Regions from separate parts of the Homo sapiens genome. Here regions 2, 3, 4, 5, 6 and 7 are each linked to region 1. Evidence: promoter capture Hi-C in 16 types of primary human blood cells and fetal thymus (Javierre and others, 2016). All regions are on one chromosome and are shown on one strand. Each heading gives the region's core, a stretch centred on a gene start or on the middle of the fragment in contact. The rest is flanking DNA. Distances are from core to core; before and after follow the strand shown.

The links. The method cuts DNA at HindIII sites, captures the fragments that hold promoters and counts their contacts. A CHiCAGO score of 5 or more calls a contact.
Region 2: a contact is called between a fragment that was not itself captured here and the fragment with the promoter of QNG1 in region 1, in 2 of 17 cell types (M2 macrophages and neutrophils). The highest score is 7.0, in M2 macrophages.
Region 3: a fragment that was not itself captured here is called in contact with the fragment with the promoter of QNG1 in region 1 in 5 of 17 cell types (M2 macrophages, M0 macrophages, neutrophils and 2 more); the score reaches 8.0 in M2 macrophages.
Region 4: a contact is called between a fragment that was not itself captured here and the fragment with the promoter of QNG1 in region 1, in 5 of 17 cell types (M0 macrophages, neutrophils, erythroblasts and 2 more). The highest score is 7.1, in M0 macrophages.
Region 5: a contact is called between a fragment that was not itself captured here and the fragment with the promoter of QNG1 in region 1, in 3 of 17 cell types (naive CD8 T cells, non-activated CD4 T cells and total CD4 T cells). The highest score is 8.1, in naive CD8 T cells.
Region 6: a fragment that was not itself captured here is called in contact with the fragment with the promoter of QNG1 in region 1 in 1 of 17 cell types (activated CD4 T cells); the score reaches 5.1 in activated CD4 T cells.
Region 7: a contact is called between a fragment that was not itself captured here and the fragment with the promoter of QNG1 in region 1, in 4 of 17 cell types (non-activated CD4 T cells, total CD8 T cells, total B cells and 1 more). The highest score is 7.8, in non-activated CD4 T cells.

The regions. Positions count from the first base shown.
Region 1 is chr9:83,955,323-83,958,151 of GRCh38, forward strand. It overlaps QNG1 (Q-nucleotide N-glycosylase 1), which reads right to left and starts at 1,420. Exons shown (of 4, transcript NM_032307.5): 1 at 842-1,420; 2 at 59-318. The coding sequence starts at 1,178. The HindIII fragment of the contact is 8,080 bases long and covers 1-2,829 here.
Region 2 is chr9:84,396,822-84,399,650 of GRCh38, forward strand. No RefSeq gene overlaps it. Among named protein-coding and RNA genes, the nearest start is that of SLC28A3, 57 kb to the left of the region's middle. The HindIII fragment of the contact is 7,909 bases long and covers 1-2,829 here.
Region 3 is chr9:84,379,936-84,382,764 of GRCh38, forward strand. No RefSeq gene overlaps it. Among named protein-coding and RNA genes, the nearest start is that of SLC28A3, 41 kb to the left of the region's middle. The HindIII fragment of the contact is 6,565 bases long and covers 1-2,829 here.
Region 4 is chr9:84,349,409-84,352,237 of GRCh38, forward strand. It overlaps a transcript of SLC28A3 not described here. Among named protein-coding and RNA genes, the nearest start is that of SLC28A3, 10 kb to the left of the region's middle. The HindIII fragment of the contact is 4,870 bases long and covers 1-2,829 here.
Region 5 is chr9:83,611,288-83,614,116 of GRCh38, forward strand. No RefSeq gene overlaps it. Among named protein-coding and RNA genes, the nearest start is that of IDNK, 10 kb to the right of the region's middle. The HindIII fragment of the contact is 2,666 bases long and covers 39-2,704 here.
Region 6 is chr9:83,632,108-83,634,936 of GRCh38, forward strand. The region is part of intron 3 of IDNK (IDNK gluconokinase); the gene reads left to right. Among named protein-coding and RNA genes, the nearest start is that of IDNK, 10 kb to the left of the region's middle. The HindIII fragment of the contact is 1,704 bases long and covers 571-2,274 here.
Region 7 is chr9:83,660,944-83,663,772 of GRCh38, forward strand. It overlaps UBQLN1 (ubiquilin 1), which reads right to left. Exons shown (of 11, transcript NM_013438.5): 11 at 1-996. The coding sequence ends at 844. Among named protein-coding and RNA genes, the nearest start is that of IDNK, 39 kb to the left of the region's middle. The HindIII fragment of the contact is 210 bases long and covers 1,246-1,455 here.

The sequences.
Region 1 (2,829 bases), core at 170-2,669:
AAAAGAGTTAACTCTGAGATGATTAAGACTTCTAAAATCCCCAACAGAAGCAACTCACCTCAAACAGAGTCACATCTCTGTAAGAAGGAAAACTTTCAACCACCAGGTGCATTAACTTCTGCGCACTATTCTCACTTTCTCGGACGCAGTTGAGAAAAGAGCCTCCAAACTTCTCCAGCAGAATTTTCCCGGTTTCATTGAGAATCCGATGCCTCTCTTCTACTAAAGGCATGGAAACGTCTGTGTCAGAACGAAGTATATTCCGAACCTGATCCAGGGTCACTGTCGCGTAGTACGAGGCACTAGTTATTGGTATCCCTTTAGTGAAAAAATAAAATTCAGAGGACCAATGTCATACTTCCATATGCATTAAACCCTTGCTTTTACAACATGGAATTAATATGAAACCAAATGAGTGGTATAGGAATGCACCAAAAGTGGAAGAATAAAAAATCTAAAGCAAAACTCATTTTCTACTTGTTCATCTGTACTTATTCACCCATTTCTAACTATTGCAATATTACATCAGATGTATTCTGAGTAAATTGCTTTATAACATCGGTCCTTTTGTTCTTCAGGTGTCATTCAAATGGCATTCTTTATAAAACTGACTTTTATGCTACTGTAACTTTTATGCTGCAATGATAAATATTAACATCATTTTCCACTAAAATATGCCCCTTTTCATACTTCTATTTTAAGCATAAGGACTTGCAACGAACTTCAGGTTCGCTTTCCATTATTCCATCTCCCAACCCGCTCCTTGGAACTCCCCTACACACACCCCAAGTAAATGGAAACCTCAAAGGCCGTTAGGTCCGATGGCAAGTATGGCACCAACCTTCGTCGAGGGCTCTGTTGACGGCGGCGCACAGGGACCAGTACCCACTGTATGTTTTCCCTCTGTACCTCACCACACACTTGTGCTCGTCCTGCTCCGACCAAAAGGAGAAGTTGAGCGTGTCTGTCACGAACACCCAGTTGACCGCGGCCTCGTCGGCCGCCCTGGGGTTCAGCTCATGAAGGGCTTTCCACCCCTCCACGCGCAGCTCTGGCCCCGCCGCCTTGGCCAGCAGCAGCTCTGCCACCCTCCGTACGCCTCCGCTGTCAATAAACACATCCCGACTGTTTTCTGCAATGAATTTAGAGGATTCCCTGGGATTTAGGAGCCCGTCCATTCTGCCCTTTGGGACCCGGCGGGCCAAACTCTTCCCGCCCTAGGCGGGTCAAGGTCCACTCTGCGCCTTGCGCTACTACGAACCGCGCGATCACAGGGCCTAAACAAGGTCCCGCCCTGCCAGGGAGTGGCACCGAGAACTTAGTGCAGCCAAGGTAAAGGTTCTCTCCCGCGGCGTTGCCCTGATTAGGAAACCAGAGAGACCCCGGGGCAGCTCGCTGGGCAGAGGCCGCAAGCACTTCCGGGAAAGCGGTCCCGTTCACGCCCTCTCGGGCGCGCTCTCAGGCTCCGCTTCCGGTTCCAAAGGTCTGGAAACTGCTAAGGGTCCGGCGTTCACCGGCCGTGAGTTGCCCACCCTGGGAGGTGCATGGCTTTGCCATGTTTTGCCTTTTCTCACCCCGCTTCGGACAGGTGGGACTCGAAGACGGCGACTCGCCGCCTTGCCCTGGGTCGCGATGCCCCCACCCCGCTCCCACCCCTCTCCTTTCCCGCAGCCTGAGCAAGACGCCTTCGGCAACGCCCCGCATCCGGGCTCCTTGGCCTCGAAGAGCATTATGGCCGTAGATCTGGGTGCTGAGGACTGAGCCACCCCCAGACTGCGACATGGGCGGCGGTGCCTCCTTCCCCAAGCCCCAGGGAGTGTTTTTTTGTTTGTTTTGTTTTTTGTTTTTGTTTAAGTGAATTCCTGGCCCATTTGGCCGAACGAACGTTAGGATTAGTTGGAAGGTTTGGAGAAATGGATGAGGAAACAAATGTGTTAAATTGTTAAATTAACCTTGTGTGCCTGGCAGTGTACTTAAGTACTAAATCTCACCTAGGCTGGGTCATGACGAAAGCGGCTATTGTGATCCCGCTTTTGCAAGTGAAGCTGAGTGGTTCATTGATTAACCCCCATCACAGCAATGGTTTGGGCTAGGATTTAAACCTTTGATAATTGAGCCCCCTAAATCGAGGGCACTTTATGAGCCAATCACCAGTGCCAACCATTCTGGTCAGTCAAATAGTGACTATATCAGTGGCCCTACTGAGAAGACATTAAAAATGAGGAAATAAGTGTCTCACAACTGCAAACTTACACAAGTACCTTATATTAGGAGAGAGGTGTAGAAGCCAATTTAGTGATGATCCAAATTTGACTGGTGATGAAGTTTTAGTATAAAGGTATGCATTTTTTTTCCTTTTGGAGACTTAAATCTCCATGGATAACGTTCACATCTTTGAAAATCACCTATTAAAAATAATCATCAGTACCCATCTCTAGTTACCGACAGGAAAATCTTGGTATTTTTGGAGGATTCGGAGCTTTTAAATTTGTTTGTTTGAGACAGAATCTCACCCTGTCGCCCAGGCTGGAGTGCAGTGGCATGATCTCAGCTCACTGCAACCTCCACCTCCCCGGTTCAAGTGATTCTCCCTGCCTCAGCTTCCCAAGTAGCTGGGATTATAGGTGTCAGCCACCACACCTGACTAATTTTTGTATTTTTAGTAGAGATGGGGTTTCCCTATGTGGGCCAGGCTGGTCTCAAACTCCTGACCTCAGGTAATCCACCCTCCTCGGCCTCCCAAATGGAGCTTTTTTTTTGAGACGGAGTCTCACTCTGTCATCCAGGCTGGAATGCAGTGGCACAGTCTCGGCTCACTGCAACCTCCGC
Region 2 (2,829 bases), core at 95-2,594, 440 kb after region 1:
GAACCAGGAAGGCTGGTAGGAGTTGCAGAATTTATTTAGCCTCAGGTCTTTGGTGTTGCTGAATCAACCCAGATTTGTAGTAAACTCCAAGAGGCAGGTTAGCACTGGGCACTTGGGAACAGAACCCCTATGGACAAGGAGCAACAGACGATACTGGTGAGATGGCAGGCATAACAGGGTTAAAGACCTAATGGAGACCCCTAACGAGGCATTCAGCTGGATCTACATTAGCTCTGGAGGCAACCACCAGGACCACTTTGGACCTTATGCGTTTTATACCATGTGAATGTATTTCTATTAATATAAGTAAAATAATTTTAAGAAAAAGAAGGGAAGGGCATGCCCACCTGCTCTGTCATGCTGTTTGTCTCTGGCAGAGAGGCAGGTGCTCTGGAAGGAGCTGGCAGCCTGTGATGACCTAGAATGGCCACTTGGTGGCAGTGTTTCACTTTAATTGGCCCAAGGCAACCCGACCTGGTTTTATGAACTTCTAGCTGCGGATTTCTGGGACCCGCCCTCAAGGTTCAATTTATAGGCCTCGAGTGAAGATGCAAAATAGGATCCTGAGTGGAAAGTAATGGCTGTAACAGATATCCTCTGGCTCCTCCCTGTCTTCTTTCCCATTAGAACATCTCCCATCTAAGAGCTGCTTAGCAGGAGACAGGGGTCAATATCACAGAGGCCGGATCAGAGGCAGAAGCTGGGCTGCTTTAGGCCTGACACCGTGTGAGGGACCTGAAGGCAAGGAGCGTGGCTGCATCTGCCAGGCACGGGTGCTCAGGGGTGCTGCGAGTCCCCCAGGCCAAGGACGGGGCGTGCATTCATGGAGAGTGTTTGGCTGTCTTCTTTCCTGTGCTGGCGCGTTTCCAGGGGCCCACTCTTTCTGAGGGGTCTCTCAGGGAGGGCATGGCTGTGAAAAGTGAGGGAGGAAGCCGCAGGGATGTCACCTTCGGCCGGTTACAAAGCCCTTCTGGGCCACGTTCTCCTTTGTGGGATTGGGACGTTGATCCACTTCAGAGGCTCCCAGGCCCCCAGTTCAGGGCTGTCCCAGAATCACCAGAGAAATAAATTAACACAGATTCCGGGGCCCCGCCACTGCTCAGTCTATTCTATGGGTCTAGTTGGGAGCCCCGGAATCTGTGGGTTTAATAAACCCCAGAAGAACCCAATGAAGTTTGGAATCCAATGGTTAGGGGTGCTTTTTTGGATTCCTTCTAAGTGAGAAATTGTGACTGTGGAAGTGATGACTCACTGTGAAGCACACGGGCCCTGAAATCCACCCCTTCAAGCTGTTGATCTTTGTATGCATTTATTTCCTCAAGATGTTGCTGGCTCTTCCCGGGCCAGGAAGCAGATGCTGTGCCCGGTAAGGCCCGTCCTTCCAGTCCAGCCTTTACCACCCATGCGGAGTGAGGGTGAGGGCTCCGAAGGTGCTTTTGACCCTAATGTCATAACCATGGGGGGTGGACACAGATGTAAACTCGAAACTCTTCTTATTATTGAAAAATGTAAATATATACAAAAGTAAAGAGAATAGTATAATGAATCCTTATTTATCCACTACTTAGATTCAACAATTATCAAGATTTTGCCACATAGCTCTTATTCACATGCCAAGGGGGAGAAAAGAAGATTTTGCTATAGAAAAATTATCATACTTTCATTTTTTGTGTTTGTCTTTGCTGAAATTTTTGCTTGAAAAAGGCAAATATCCAGGTTTCTAGTCATTTCCGCCTACATGGGGCATTTCTTCTGTGCCTTTATTACATGTTAATAATGACTTCTCAGGCCGGGCATGGTGGCTCATACCTGCAATCCCAGGATTTTGGGAGGCTGAGGCTGGAGGATTTCTTAAGCCCAGGAGTTCAAGACCAGCCTGGGCAACATAGTAAAACCCCATCTCAATAAAGATATTTTTAAAAATATTAAAATTGTTTTTTAAAAGAGAAAATAAATAATAACTTCTCAATATCATATAATTCTGACCCATACTCAAATTCCTCCAGAATTAGCTCAAAAATGTCTTTTGACATTTGATTTGAGGTCTAGGCTTCTGAGGTTATCTCCTAATGTCTCCCAATACATGCATTTGCAAAGATCCATTGAAGGGGTTGGACATTTAAAACATAGCACAACTTTTTAGCCTGAAACACACACAGAGCCCTGCAGAAAAGTGAAGTTGAGATCCTCACAGGTTCTGAGTTAGAGGGGCCTTGGAGATTATTCAGCTCACCCTTTCCTCAGTACTGGAGTCCTTTGACAGGATCAGGACTACTGTACATTTGGTATTGAAATTGCTCTTGCAAAATTATGACGGTAAGAAATCTAAGTCCAGGCGCGGTGGCTCACGCCTGTAATCCCAGCACTTTGGGAGGCTGAGGTGGGCGGATCACCTGAGGTTGGGAGTTTGAGACCAGCCTGACCAACATGGAGAAACCCCATCTCTACTAAAAATACAAAATTTGCTGGGTGTGGTGGTGCATGCCTGTAATCCCAGCTACTCAGGAGGCTGAGGCAGGAGAATTGCTTGAACCTGGGAGGCGGATGTTGCAGTGAGCCGAGATCATGCCATTGCACTCCAGCCTGGGCAACAAGAGCGAGACTCTGTCTCAAAAAAAAAAAAAAAAAAAGAAATCTGATACAGTTGACTCCATCTTACTTCTGACCTCCAAGCTGTCCTTGGTCATTCATGAGCGTATGCCAAGCTAACTTTGGGAAGAATTTAGTTTATAGTTTAACCTTAAAGCAGAGATGATAATATCCCTTCTACAAACTAAATCGCCTTTGTAAAACTAACAAAAGTCCACAATGTGAGGATTATGAGAGGCC
Region 3 (2,829 bases), core at 141-2,640, 420 kb after region 1:
TGATTGTTAAGCTGCCATTTGCCAAATCAGAGTCATATTACAACCACAGGTTGCCTATGGAGAGGAGTTTGGCAAAAATAAATGAAAGCCTTCTGTGGGAATCAGTTGACTACATAGCAATTGCAATAAAGAGTATGTATATTTTAATGCCTGGGCACAGTGGCTCATGCCTGTAATCCCAGCACTTTGGGATGCCAAGGCTGGTGGATCACCTGAGGTCAGGAGTTTGAGACCAGCCTGGGCAACATGGTGAAAGCCTGTCTCTACTAAAAATACAAAAATTAGCCCGGTGTGGTGGCAGGTGCCTGTAATCCCAGCTACTCAGGAGACTGAGGCAGGAGAATCACTTGAACCCTTGAACCCAGAAGACAGAGATTGCAGTGAGCTGGGATCGCGCCATTGCCCTCCAGCCTGGGTGACCGGAGCAAGACTCTGTCTCAAAAACAAACAAACAAACAAACAAATAAACAAACAAAAAAGAGTATGCATATTTTAAGAAGAAAATTAAAAAATAAAGAGTATGTATATTTTATTATTTTATGTAAATTGTGTGCTATATATCTTTCATATTAGTGAGTTTATAATAATCTTAGGTATATACATATGTTTATGTGTGCATACACATAGGGACTTATTTTGGGAGAATCAATTGTTAAACATTTACCAGCACTAGTTTTTTTTCTTTTTTTTTTTTTTGAGACAGAGTTTCTCTCTTGTCACCCAGGCTGGAGTGCAGTGGCGCGATCTTGGCTCACTGCAACCTCTGCCTCCCAAGTTCAGGCGATTCTCCTGCCTCAGCCTCCCGAGTAGCTGGGACTGCAGGCATGCACCAACATGCCCAGCTAATTTTGTACTTTTAGTAGAGATGGGGTTTCGCCACCAACATGCCCAGCTAATTTTGTACTTTTAGTAGAGATGGGGTTTCGCCATGTTGGCCAGGCTGGTCTCGAACTCCTGACCTAGGTGATCTGCCTGCCTCAGCCTTCCAAAGTGCTGGGATTACAGGCGTGAACCACCATGCCCGGCCTACCAGCACTAGTTTTATAGGAAAAACAATATGGTGGCAAATGCCAGCATCAAGATGGATGACACTTTCCTGGATGTGGTTATAAGAAATTCTTCCCAATAAACAATCCTGGAGAGTAAACTCTTTCTTTGATCTTTGTTTATAGAACAGTCTCTTTCTATAAATAAGACCTGAGATTGTGGGTCACATATGTAACTTGTGTCTACTCAGGCCACCTCACACCAGGGCACAGGTGACATTTTGCTCAGTGACATTTTGCTGACCTTGTTCCTACTTGCTGTTTCAGGTCTTCCAGTCCCCCCCTTGACATTTCTGTGACTTCCCAGGGATGTGTCACCAATCCCATCCTCTTGTGAAGGAAATTCTATGACTTTTCCTTGCTTTTAGGGATGCTCAGGCCCTCATGAGCTCCTTTTAGGGCCTATGTGATTTGGTGCATGCCTCCTCCCCTCAGGGCCTTTGCACATTCCACTTCTTCTGGCCAAGGGACCCCAATCCTGCTCCTGGTCAATGCCAACCATGGGACTTTCCAGCTTTAGCAAGGCCATTCCTGACCTCCCCAAATTTCTTTCAGACTAGCCTGTGCTCTGCCACACTGCTTACCGCTGTTGTGCACATACACTTTGGTGTGGTTGTTTAATATCAGCTCATCTTTGAACTCTCAGTGACTTTAGAACAGGGACCAACTTGACTTTGTCATCACTGCTTGCCTAGCACCTAACGCAGTACCTGGCATTGATAAATAAGTGTGTGTTATCTTGACAACAGCCAGGCACAACCTTAGCTGTTGCCAAGAGGCCAGGCTGAGGCTTCCCTGCAGAGGTTCCTTGAGTGTGTGTGTTTTTTTTTTTTTTTGGTGAGACATTCTCACTCCGAGCCTAGGCTGGAGTGCAGTGGCACAATCTTGGCTCACTGCAACCTCTGTATCCTGGGCTCAAGAGATTCTTGTGCCTCAGCTTCCCGAGTAGCTGGGACTACAGGCTCATGCCAACATGCCTGGCTAATTTTTGTATTTTTAGTAGAGACGGGGTTTCACCATGTTGGCTGGGCTGGTCTTGAACTCTTGGCCTCAAGCAATCCACCTGCCTTGGCCTCCCAAAGTTCTGGGATTATAGGCGTGAGCCACCGTGCCCAGCTGAGCATGTGGTTTTAAAGCCCATTTTAACTGGTGCCTGCTCGAGCACCTTGCAGTCTGCTGAAGGACGAGAAAGAACACAATGGTATCCGGAGGCAGGAGGGTGGCTGTCCTGGAAGGAAGCCCACAGGGGGGTTCTAGGGCTATGGAAATGTTCTGTCCCTGGATTTGGGTGATAGTGACATGTAAACATGTGTACGTTATGCGGATGTTATGTCTCAATTACAAAAATAATAGAAGGAGGTAGTAGAGTGTACAGATTGCCTGGGCTCTGGACTCAGGCAGCTCTGAGTCTGAATCCACAGCTAAATGACATGTCCAGGTCCCTTCTCCAGACCTCAGTTTTCTCATTTACAAAATGGGTATTATATCTTTTTTTTTTATACTTTAAGTTTTAGGGTACATGTGCACATTGTGCAGGTTAGTTACATATGTATACATGTGCCATGCTGGTGCGCTGCACCCACTAACTCGTCATCTAGCATTAGGTATATCTCCCAATGCTATCCCTCCCCCCTCCCCTCCAAAATGGGTATTATATCTTTACCCTTATGGTTATGTGTAAGGCTTAGCAAATTTTAGGATTAGAAATTCAGTAACTTGTAAAGGCAATTCTTCTTTGCCTACTTTATTACCGTGGAAGTTGTTAAAAAAACAAAACAAAACA
Region 4 (2,829 bases), core at 212-2,711, 390 kb after region 1:
GTATTTTTGGTAGAGACGGGGTTTCACCATGTTGGCCAAGCTGGTCTTGAACTCCTGACTTCAAGTGATCTGTCCGCCTTGGCCTCCCAAAATGTTGGGATTACAGGCATCAGCCACCACGTCCGGCTTACTTGTTTTTTATAAATTACCCATTATGTAGAATTCTGTTATGACAGCAGAAAACAGACTAAGACAGCATCCATACACTCACGGGTCCATGGGAAACCTGTCAGTAGCCAGTTTTTTGAAAACCTTGAGTTGAGCCTCTAGGGCTCTGTCAGTGTTCAGTAGGGTAAGTATGTTACCATTACATGTGGTTGAATGAGGTTCACGAAGGGAGCAAAGAACAAACATTGATATGGGTTATAGGAATGGCAGAATGGCAACATGCAACTTATGGATAAACAAGAATCTTCCAGGAAGTGCATTCTTGAGTCTGGAAGATTTCCAGAGATGACAATCTTTTTTAATAACACAGCCATGTGTTACTTAACAATGGGGATACATTCTGAGAAATGAGTCCTTAGGCAGTTTTTTCATCATGCAAACATCACAGAGTGTATTTACACAAATCCAGATGGTATAGCCTAAAACACACCTAGGTTATATGGTATAGCCTGTGGCTCCTAGACTACAAACCTGTACAGCATGTTACTGTGCTGAATACTGTAGGCAATTATAACAAAATGGTAAGTATTTGTGCATTTAAATATATCTAAACATAGAAAAGGTATAGTAAAAAATATGGTAGGCCCGGCACGGTGGCTCATGCCTGTAATCCCAGCAACTTTGGGAGGCCAAGGCAGGTGGATCACCTGAGGTCTGGAGTTCAAGACCAGCCTGACTAATGTGGTGAAACCACGTCTCTACTAAAAATACAAAAATTAGCCGGGTGTGGTGGTGCATGCCTGTAATCCCAGCTACTCGGGAGGCTGAGGCAGGGGAATCGCTTGAACCAGGAGGCAGAGTTTGCAGTGAGCCAAGATTGCGTCATTGCACTCCAGCCTGGGCAACAAGAGTGAAACCAGGTCTCAAAAATAAATAAATAAATAAATAAATAGGTATAAAAATAAAAAATGAAAAATAATAAATAAATAAATAATGGTACACCTCTATAGGGCACTTACCATGGATGGAACTTACAGGACTAGGTTCTAGGTGAGTCAGTGAGTTAGTGGTGAGTTAATGTTAAGGCCTAGGGCATTACTGTTCAATAATGTAGACTTTATATAAACATTATACACTTAGGTTACACCAAATTTATTTAAAAATTTTCTTTATTCAATAAGAAATTAATCTTAGCTCACCATAACTTTTTTCTGAGACAGAGTGTTGCTCTGTCACCCAGGCTGGAGCACAGTGGTGCGATCTTGGCTCACTGCAACCTCCACCTCCCTGGGTTCAAGCAATTCTTGTGCCTCAGCCTCCCAGGTAGCTGTGACTACAGGCACGCACCACCACGTCTGGCTGATTTTTGTATTTTTAGTAGAGGTGGTTTCACCCTCTTGGCCAGGCTGGTATATCCTGACCTCAAGTGATCCTCCCACCTCAGCCTCCCAAAGTGCTGGGATTACAGGCATGAGCAACGGTGCCCAGTCAACTTTTTTACCTTATAAATGTTCTCATTTTTAAAATTTCTTGACTCTTGTAATAAAACCTAGCTTAAAATGCAAATGCAAATACATTGTATGGCTATACAAAAATATTTTCTTTATAGTCTTATTCTATCAGCATATATATAACTTTTTAAACTTCTTTGCTAAATACTACAGCATAAACACCCACATATTAGTCTAGGCCTACACAGGGTCAGGATCATCAAGATGTCACTACGTGATAAAATTTTTTCAGCTCCATTATAATCTTATGAGACTACTATTGTATATGAGGTCTCTTGTTGACTAAAATGATGTTTCAAGGTACATGACTTTATTAGTATCTGCCTGCAATGTTCAGAGAAAATGCAGAGGCTGGGTGCAGTGGCTCATGCCTGTAATCCCAGCACTTTGTGAGGCAGAGATGGGCTGATTGCTTGAGCCCAGGAGTCTGAGACCAACCTGGGCAACATGGTAAAACCCCAAATCTTAAAAAATGGAAAAAATTAGTTGGGCATGGTGGCATGCGCCTATAGTACCAGCTACTCAGGAGGCTGAAGTGAGAAGATCACCTGAGCCCCAGGAGGTCAAGGCTGCAGTGAGTTGTGATTGCACCACTGCACTCCAGCCTGGATGACAGAGTGAGACTCCATCTCAAAAAAAAAATTAAATTAAATTAAATTAAATTAAAAAAAAAAAGACAACGTAGGGACAATTGGCAAAAGTTGAATTTGGTAAAAGTAATGTATCAATATTAAATTTCCTGATCTTGATAATTGTATTGTGGTTATGTAAGAGAATGTCCTTAGGAAATACACGTTGGAGTATTTAGGAATAAAGTGATATAATGTCTGTGATTTTACTCCCAAAGGGTTCAGGAAAAAAAAAAAACATGTAAATGTATATGAGTATGAGAGAGAATAAATAAAACAAATGAGGCAAGACGCTAATGGTGAAACTGTAATGAGAGTTTTTTGCATTATTCTTGGATCTTTTCTACAAATTTAACATTATATGAAAACAAAAAGTTACAAAAAGAGATGCTTTTTGAATTATTCATATATGTAAACATATACATTTAGCATTTTTTTAATAAGTTATGTATGTGGATAGTGAAATGGTCTCAAACTATATATTATCCTGCAGATTTCCCTCTATGTGGTTAAGTACAGATTCCAAAAAATTTTGCTTTTTTTTTAAGACAGAGTCTCGCACTGTTGCCTGGGCTGGAGTG
Region 5 (2,829 bases), core at 122-2,621, 340 kb before region 1:
AGCATAACTGTGTCTTCCACTCAAAGAAAATTTTGAGAAGCTTAATTATCTGGGGAATTTGTACTTGTAAAAATTATCATCATTACTGTATAGATGAAAGAATGAGAGAAAGTGTACTTGAAGCGCATTAGAAAAGAAGATAATAGGTAATGCATGTCATCATTTAAAGTGTTGCCTGAATCAACTGGCCACTGTTAGAGGAGATAAGGACATACTCTGTCAAAGACATACTAAAGGGCATTTTTATTTTGTTTTGTTTTAAAGTGGACTTAATTTTTTTTAATAAAATGTAACTCTTATTTAGTGGCAAGTATTCACATACTAACACCTGTGAAGGAGTATTATGCAATGTCATTGGTGTCCGAGATAGTTATCAGCAAGTGCAATGTCAGCAGAAACACTAGCGGCCAGTTAGGGAATAAATCAAGCTGGAGGAGAGGAAGGTCGAGATCAATTTAGATTTCTAGCATACCAGACATTATTCATTCCTGCTTTGCCTGCAGGGGACACTTTCCTGGGTCGCTCACTGCTGCCGGCACCCGTAAATTAGGCAGGGAAGATCCCAGTTAAGTGTGTGTGTGATACATTACACACAAAGAAGTATATAAAATCTACATGTACAGCTTGAAATAAAAGAATAGATAAACATCTGTGTAATCAATATCTAGGCTAAGAAATAGAACATTACCAGTTCACTAGAGGACATTTGGTGCCTCTTCCAAGAGCTTTCGTTTTGAATTTTAGGTTAATCATTCTTTTCTTCTCTGCATAGTTTTAGTGTGTGTGTGTGTGTGTGTGTGTGTGTGTGTGTGTCTTTTAACTACAAATGTATTGCTTAATTTTCTTGTTTTTAAATTTTCTGTAATTGAGGATCATACGGATTGTATTCTTACAATCAGCAATATGGCTTTGATATGCTTTTGTAGCTGTAGTTTACTCATTTTATTTGTTGTACAGGGCTCCCTTGTTTGAATATGACATGACTTATAAAACCACTTCACCACTGATAGATATTCAGATTATTTCCAATTCGAGAGTATTGTGAACAAGACTTCTTGCACATTTGCGTACGTGTTTCCTGGTGTATAAACCTAGGAAGGGAATTGCAGAATTGTATTTGATTGCAGTTTTTAGATATATAGACCTAGGAAGGGAATTGCAGAATTGTATTTGATTGCAGTTTTTAGATATATAGACCAAAGGAACAGACCAGAGAACTCAGAAATAACACCACACATCTACAACCATCTAATCTTCAACAGACCTGACAAAAGCAAGCAACGGGGAAAGGATTTCCTATTTAATAAATGGCTGGGAAAACTGACTAGCCCATATGCAGAAAACTGAAACTGGACCCCTTCCTTACAACTTACACAAAAATTAACTCAAGATGGCTTAAAGACTTAAATGTAAGACCTAAAACCATAAAAACCCTAGAAGAAAACCTAGGCATTACCATTCAGGACATAGGCATGGACAAAGACTTCATGATTAAAACACCAAAAGCAATGGCAACAAAAGCCAAAATTGACAAATGAGATCTAATTATACTAAAGAGCTTCTGCACAGCAAAAGAAACTGTCATCAGAGTGAACAGGCAACCTACAGAATGGGAGAAAAATTTTGCAATCTATCCATCTGACAAAGGGCTAATATCCAGAATCTACAAAGAACATAAACAAATTTACAAGAGAAAAACAAACAATCTCATCAAAAAGTGGGCAAAGGATATGAACAGACGCTTCTCCAAAGAAGACATTTATGCAGCCAACAGACATATGAAAAAATGCTCGTCATCACTGGTCATCAGAGAAATGCAAATCAAAGCCACAATGCAATACCATCTCATGCCAGTTAGAATGGCGATCATTAAAAAGTTAGGAAACAACAGATGCTGGAGAGGATGTGGAGAAATAGGAACGCTTTTACACTGTTGGTGGGAGTGTAAATTAGTTCAACCATTGTGGAAGACAGTGTGGCGATTCCTCAAGGATCTAGAACTAGAAATACCATTTGACCCAGCAATCCCATTACTGGGTATATACCCAAAGGATTATAAATTATGCCACTATAAAGACACATGCACACGTATCTTTATTGCAGCACTATTTACAATAGCAAAGACTTGGAACCAACCCAAATGCCCATCAGTGATAGACGGGATTAAGAAAATGTGGCACATATACACCATGGAATACTATGCAGCCATAAAAAAGAATGAGTTCATGTCTTTGCAGGGACATGGATGAAGCTGGAAACCATCATCCTCAGCAAACTAACACAAGAACAGAAAACCAAACACTGTATGTTCCCACTCACAAGTGGAAGTTGAACAGTGAGAACACATGGACACAGGGAAGGGAACATCACACACTGGGGCCTGTTGGGCGGAGTGGGGGGCAAGCAGAGGGAGAGCATTAAGACAAATACCTAATGCATGCGAGGCTTAAAACCTAGATGACCGGTTGATAGGTGCAACAAACCACCATGGCACATGTATACCTATGTAACAAACCTGCGCATTCAGTACCTGTATTCCAGAACTTAAAGTAAAATTTTAAAAAGTAATTAATTTTAAAAAAAAGTAATGGCACTAACCTAATAGGATATGTGCATATTCAGTTTTACTCTATCAGGCGAAACTGTTTTTTCCAGAGCAGTGATAACAGTTTACATTTCCTTCAGCAGAGGACGAGTGTCTTCAAGCTTCACACCCCAGCCAGCATTTGGTACTGTTCCACTTTGTATTTTTCCAGTTTGCTTCGTATGTACATGGTACCTCATAATTTTATTTTGGTGGTTTGTTTTTTGTTTTTTGTTTTTGAGACA
Region 6 (2,829 bases), core at 173-2,672, 320 kb before region 1:
ATTTTGGAATTCTTCTTTTTCATGGAGGGGGTCAGTATATAACATTCTATATACTTAACTTTTGCATCAGGTAAAACACACCCATCTCCCCGCCATTCCCACTCCCCATCTTCCTTCCCGTCTCTCTCCACCCATATTCTACCATTATCTGTTCTCTCTTTACCCATCATCCCCTTCCAAAAGACATTTAATTTCTCAAGATGTTTCCATAGGCCAAGAAAGCTTTCTCTAGCCTCATGACATTCTGATTTCACTCTTCGTAGAGCATTCATTGTGCTCACCTCCGAGCACTGGGCTGGGAGTCGGGAGTGCACTGCCTTCCCCATCTTTGCGTGTAGGGACTATCTAGAGCAGGGGTGTCCAGTCGTTTGGCTTCCCTGGGCCACACTGGAAGAAGAATTGTCTTGGGCCACACATAAAATACACTAACATTAACGATAGCTGATGAGCAAAAAAAAAAAAAAAAAAAAAAAAAATCACAAAAAAAATCTCATGTTTTAAGGAAGTTTACAAATTTATGTTGGGCCACATTCAAAGCCGCAGTAGGGTTTGCGGGCTGTGTGTTGTACAAGCTTGATCTGGAGTGTGAAAACCTTGAACATCAGAGCCATAGGCAGAGATGCTAATTTGGATTGTCTCATTTCTTTCCTCTAAAACTTCTGTGTGTTTGATTTTCATAACTTATTATATTGTCCACAGTAACTGTCTGGAAGGCATAGAGCTCAGTGAATTTGCTCTAATATCTCCTTCTTCCAATTTCTTCACTGTAGAGAGATCTCAATTCCCCCCTTTCTTCATTATGAACATAAAATTTGGAGCTCATGTGTCTAGGTCCTTCCTAGCACCTTTACAATAAGGTCCACACTCCTTAGCAGGCCAGTCAAGGTCTTGAAATTATCTTTATCTTTTAAGATTTACTCTTTCCAAGGCCTGATCAAGATTGGCCTGTCCTCCAGGCGCAGTGGCTCACGCCTGTAATCCCAGCACTTTGGGAGGCCGAGGCGGGCAGATCACAAGGTCAGGAGATCGAGACCATCCTGGCTAACACGGTGAAATCCCGTCTCTACTAAAAATACACAAAATTAGCCGGGCGTGGTGGCAGGCGCCTGTAGTCCCAGCTACTCGGGAGGCTGAGGCGGGAGAATGGCGTGAACCCAGGAGGTGGAGCTTGCAGTGAGCCAAGATCACACCACTGCACTCCAGCCTGGGTGACAGAGCAAGACTACATCTCAAAAATAAAAAAATAAAAGAAGATTGGCCTGTCCTCCTGCTGTGTTATCATAGCCCTTCTTAGTATATCTCCCACAGCCCTCATCACTGCCCTGCAGGTGACTTAATAGATTACTCATTTGCCTCTTCTCTTTGAGGACAGGAACCACACCATTCATATTTATCCCCAGTGCTCACTCAGTATGGTGCTTTGCACCACATTTAATGTTTGTGGAATTAAGGCCCAGTGCCTACCAAATTCATGAATTTAAACTCTTTCAAAAATTCAGAGTTGGAAATAAGTACTGTTTATTTCAACTGTTAAATCAACCAAAAAATAGTTTATTCCTTTTCTTATTTAAATCCCAGAGCAGCTCAATGAATTATATACGATCCCCACTTTACAAATGAACAAAGAGAGGTGCAGAGAAATTAAGTAACTTGAGCAAAGCCACACAGCAAAGGGAGTCTTTCTAACTTCAAAGATCATACTTCTCCTACTGTGTTAAAGGCCCTGATCATCCAACCATTAAACAAATGATTCACAAGAAGTGAATCAAGGTTTGTTAAATTGAGAGAAAAGGGTTAGACAGAGGGTGAGAATGACAGCAGGAATGAGAGGGGCAGTTCCCCACAAGCACATCCATGGTAGGGGTTAGGCCTTAAAGATGTCTGAGGCACTGACTTAAAGGGTGGTCATGACGGCACTGACATGGTAGCCTGGCTTAAAGCAGGTCAGGCACTAGAACTTGAATTTCTACACTGGCGCTGCCTTGGAAAAAACCTTTCTCCTTGTGGCTTTATGGGAATCTCCAAAGAAAATTCATAATCATTTAATTATGATTCACTATTTGGAAATTTCAGGAATAATGTTCAAAGTGCTGCTCTTTTATTTCCAACCCTCTCTATTGTTTTTATGACTGATGGACACAGTCCTTACTGGTGCATGGTCATTAATCTGGTCTGCCATAAATTCCGATAAGGTGGATGTCTAAAAGCACCTATTTTTGTTTAAATAGTTTTATATTTATGTTTATTATGGCTTTCATAGTTGAGATTCTGAAAAGCTTTATTATGACTAGATGAAGCAGTGTGCTTTATTATTGACTAAAGCATCCATTAAGGCACTATTAAAACAATGAAAAAACATGTATTCAAAGTAAAGCTCTATTTCTTTGTACACAAGATAGAAAACTTATTACCCAAATATGTTTTCTGTAATTTTTGTTTGTTTCATTCTTATGAAATATTTCAGGCACATAGAAAGTATAATGAATAAGATAGTCAACACTCAGCTTAATGAAAAGTATATTTGTTTCCTAAGCCATAAAATAATACAGAGATTGATCTCCATTTCCACAGCACAAGCAAATAGAAATATTTGTGCAGATGGAATGGCGGAATGTACAATCTGAGCAAAATAGCAAAATGCAAGTTTGTGCCTCTGCTAATAAGAAAGAAATTCTGGTATTTAAACAAATTGTCCTCTCTCTTTGGTTCACCCCAAACTCATTATGAACATTTACTCGTGCCAAAAAGAAATTAATTTTTTTCTGTGTATTTCATCTCTGAGTCAGTCCTAATTCATAGTTCGAATTGCCCCTTAACTCTAAGTAGATA
Region 7 (2,829 bases), core at 101-2,600, 290 kb before region 1:
GTCCTAGGCAAATGCACTTTGGGGTATACTACAGTGTTCCTTCAGTCTGCACAAAGATTAAGGTAATTTACAGTCAATCTGTGAATGAATGTTGAGACAATGTTACATTATGTGTCTGTACAATTAATTGTCCTTAAAGAGATAACCAGAATCAGCTTTTCTACTGTATTTTCAACAAACCTGACTAACCGGCACTTTTGCTGGGAGATGTTTGTCAAAGATGCTGTAAGATTCTATACAATTAGGAAATACTCAGCTTTAAGAGTATTTTCTTATCTTCACTTTTTTAGTTACAGGTGTTTTGCTCAGAGAGCCTATTGCAGTATGTTTCCAGAAATGCAGTCCCAAATGTGCATACTCTATATTGTATACAAATAAAACAAAATTATCAGTAGTATAAATCTTACAGCATTGTTTGCAAAAATGCATGCCAAAGTCACAATAAGCAATACTGTACCACAAATTATAGAGTGCAAATGATTTGCTTCTTTTTAATGCTTTTATTCTACATAAATTACTACCATAGGCTAATGTTTAAAAAGCAAATAAACTGGACAGATGCAGGACAAAATCTGGTCACCCAACTATAAAAGGTGATGTTTTTAAAAAATTACAATAAATGCAGAAGTGATGCATGCAGTAGCCTTAATTCCCACTGTTCCAGAAAAGAAAAATACAGAAAAACCCACACATCTTACTGTACTCCACCTTAAAATGCATCATATTGGGTTTGTTTATAACAGCACAGAATTCCAAGAGTCAAAATGAAATAAAGCAGGTATTTTAAAGTTTAAGAGCCGTTATCAAAAATAAATTACATTTTTTCAAGATACAGAAATGCTGCTATGATGGCTGGGAGCCCAGTAACCTTTCAATAGCTGCATTGATATCACCTCCTGTTGCTATTAGAGCTTGCAAGTTTGCTTCACGGTTCAAAAATCCCATTGCACTGAGTTGTTCCAGTTGTTGCTGAAATCTGACTTCTGGATTCTGTAGCTATTAAAGAAAAAAAAAATTAATCCAACTCTAAAGGAAGCCAGTCCCTGCCACACATGACTTTTAAAATTTTTTAATTGCTTTTTTATAACATATGCTGATCTACTGAGCTTTAAAAACACTGCCCACCTCTTGAAACTTATCCAACATATTTAAAAGTCCATTAGCAGTTTATTTTAAATAGTCTAGTTTGTACCTAAATAATCATGTCAAATAGATCACGACTCTACTTTAGGGGAGGGGGAGAAAAGCTTAATAAACATCAACCATTATTTTAGAGGATCACGTACATGCAGAAAAACCTGTATGTGTGTGTGTATATACATATACATATACACACACACACACACACACACACACACACACACACACACAGATAGTTCAGAATTAGATGATTTGTGTAGCTACTGACCAATTGAGTAACTATAAAAGCTGGTATCCTCATGTATAAAATTCTAAAGCTTCAATGATTCTTCGAATGAATGTGAGTTTAATTTTTGCACTGGACAGTCAATTCTTAGAAAAGAGCTTCAGTTTCAGGCCCAAAATTATACTCTTAATTCTGACATTTCAGCAGCATCAAATCTTTTCTTCAGAAATGAAGTTAAAAAAAAAAATCTCCATATAAATGACCAATCAATCCTAGGCCTACCTGATAATTTGGAGGCTTGTAAGTTAACTTATGTCACAATTAATTCTAATACTCCAAATCCTTCTTTCTTATTTATTCCATGAATATTTACTGAGTACCTACCAAGAGCCAGAAACTATGCTACGCTAGCTTATCAGGAATACAGATATGTATGAGACAGAACCCTACCCTATTTATTATATTTAGTAAGGCTTGAAAACAGAAAGCAGGCCAGGCTCACGCCTGTAATCCCAGCACTTTGGGAGGCCAAGGCGGGTGAGATCGCTTGAGCTCAGGAGTTTGAGACCAACCTGGGCAACACGGTTGAAACCCCAGCTCTACAAAAAATACAAAAATTAGCCAGGTGTGGTGGTCTGCGCCTGTAATCCCAGCTACTCCAGAGGCTAAGGTGGGAGGATTGCTGCAGCCCAGGAGGTGCAGGTCGCAGTGAGCTGTGATTGCATCCAGCCTGGGCACTTTGTCAAAAGGGAAAGGGAAAGAAAAAAAAAAAAGGGAAAGGCAAAGAGGGGAAAGAGGAAAAAGGGGAAAGGGGGAAGGGGAAGAGGAAAGGGAAAAGGGAAAGGGGAAGAGGAAGGAGGAAAAGGAAAGGGGAAAGGAGAAAGGGAAAGAAAAAAGAAACCCAGAAAAGAAAACAGAAAGCACCTAACAGACCTTGAGACATTAAGAAGTTTGGGGACAACCTAATAAAACAGGTTTAAACTGGCGATCATCTTTATATAATGGCACATTATTAGTAAAACCAATGTATGTTTGTAGATGCAACCACATTATTAGGGGGTCCATATTCTTTAGCCATATTTACGAGATATATATATATGTAACACAAGCTACCGCAGGAGGTGGTGTCATGGGTGGAGTTAAGGTAGTTAGGACTTTTTTCCAGTCAAAAGACAGACTAGAATACAGCTGCCCTGGAGGTACTTGGGATAATCAAGTTTCCATTCCTCCCTAAGAACTTTTTTAAAGCAAAATCTATTTCAAATGATTTTCAAATAGGAACAAAAAAAATGCATTTTTAAAGGCAATTTCTAAAAAATAAGACTTTAGGTTGTAGCATGTCTTCTCTACAACCGTAACAACGTTTCCTTTAGTGTCTCAGCACCAAAGTCAACAATTTTTGTAATGCCTGTTTTCTTACTCAATATCCTTAAGACTGTATTTTTCATTAATCTAAACACCTA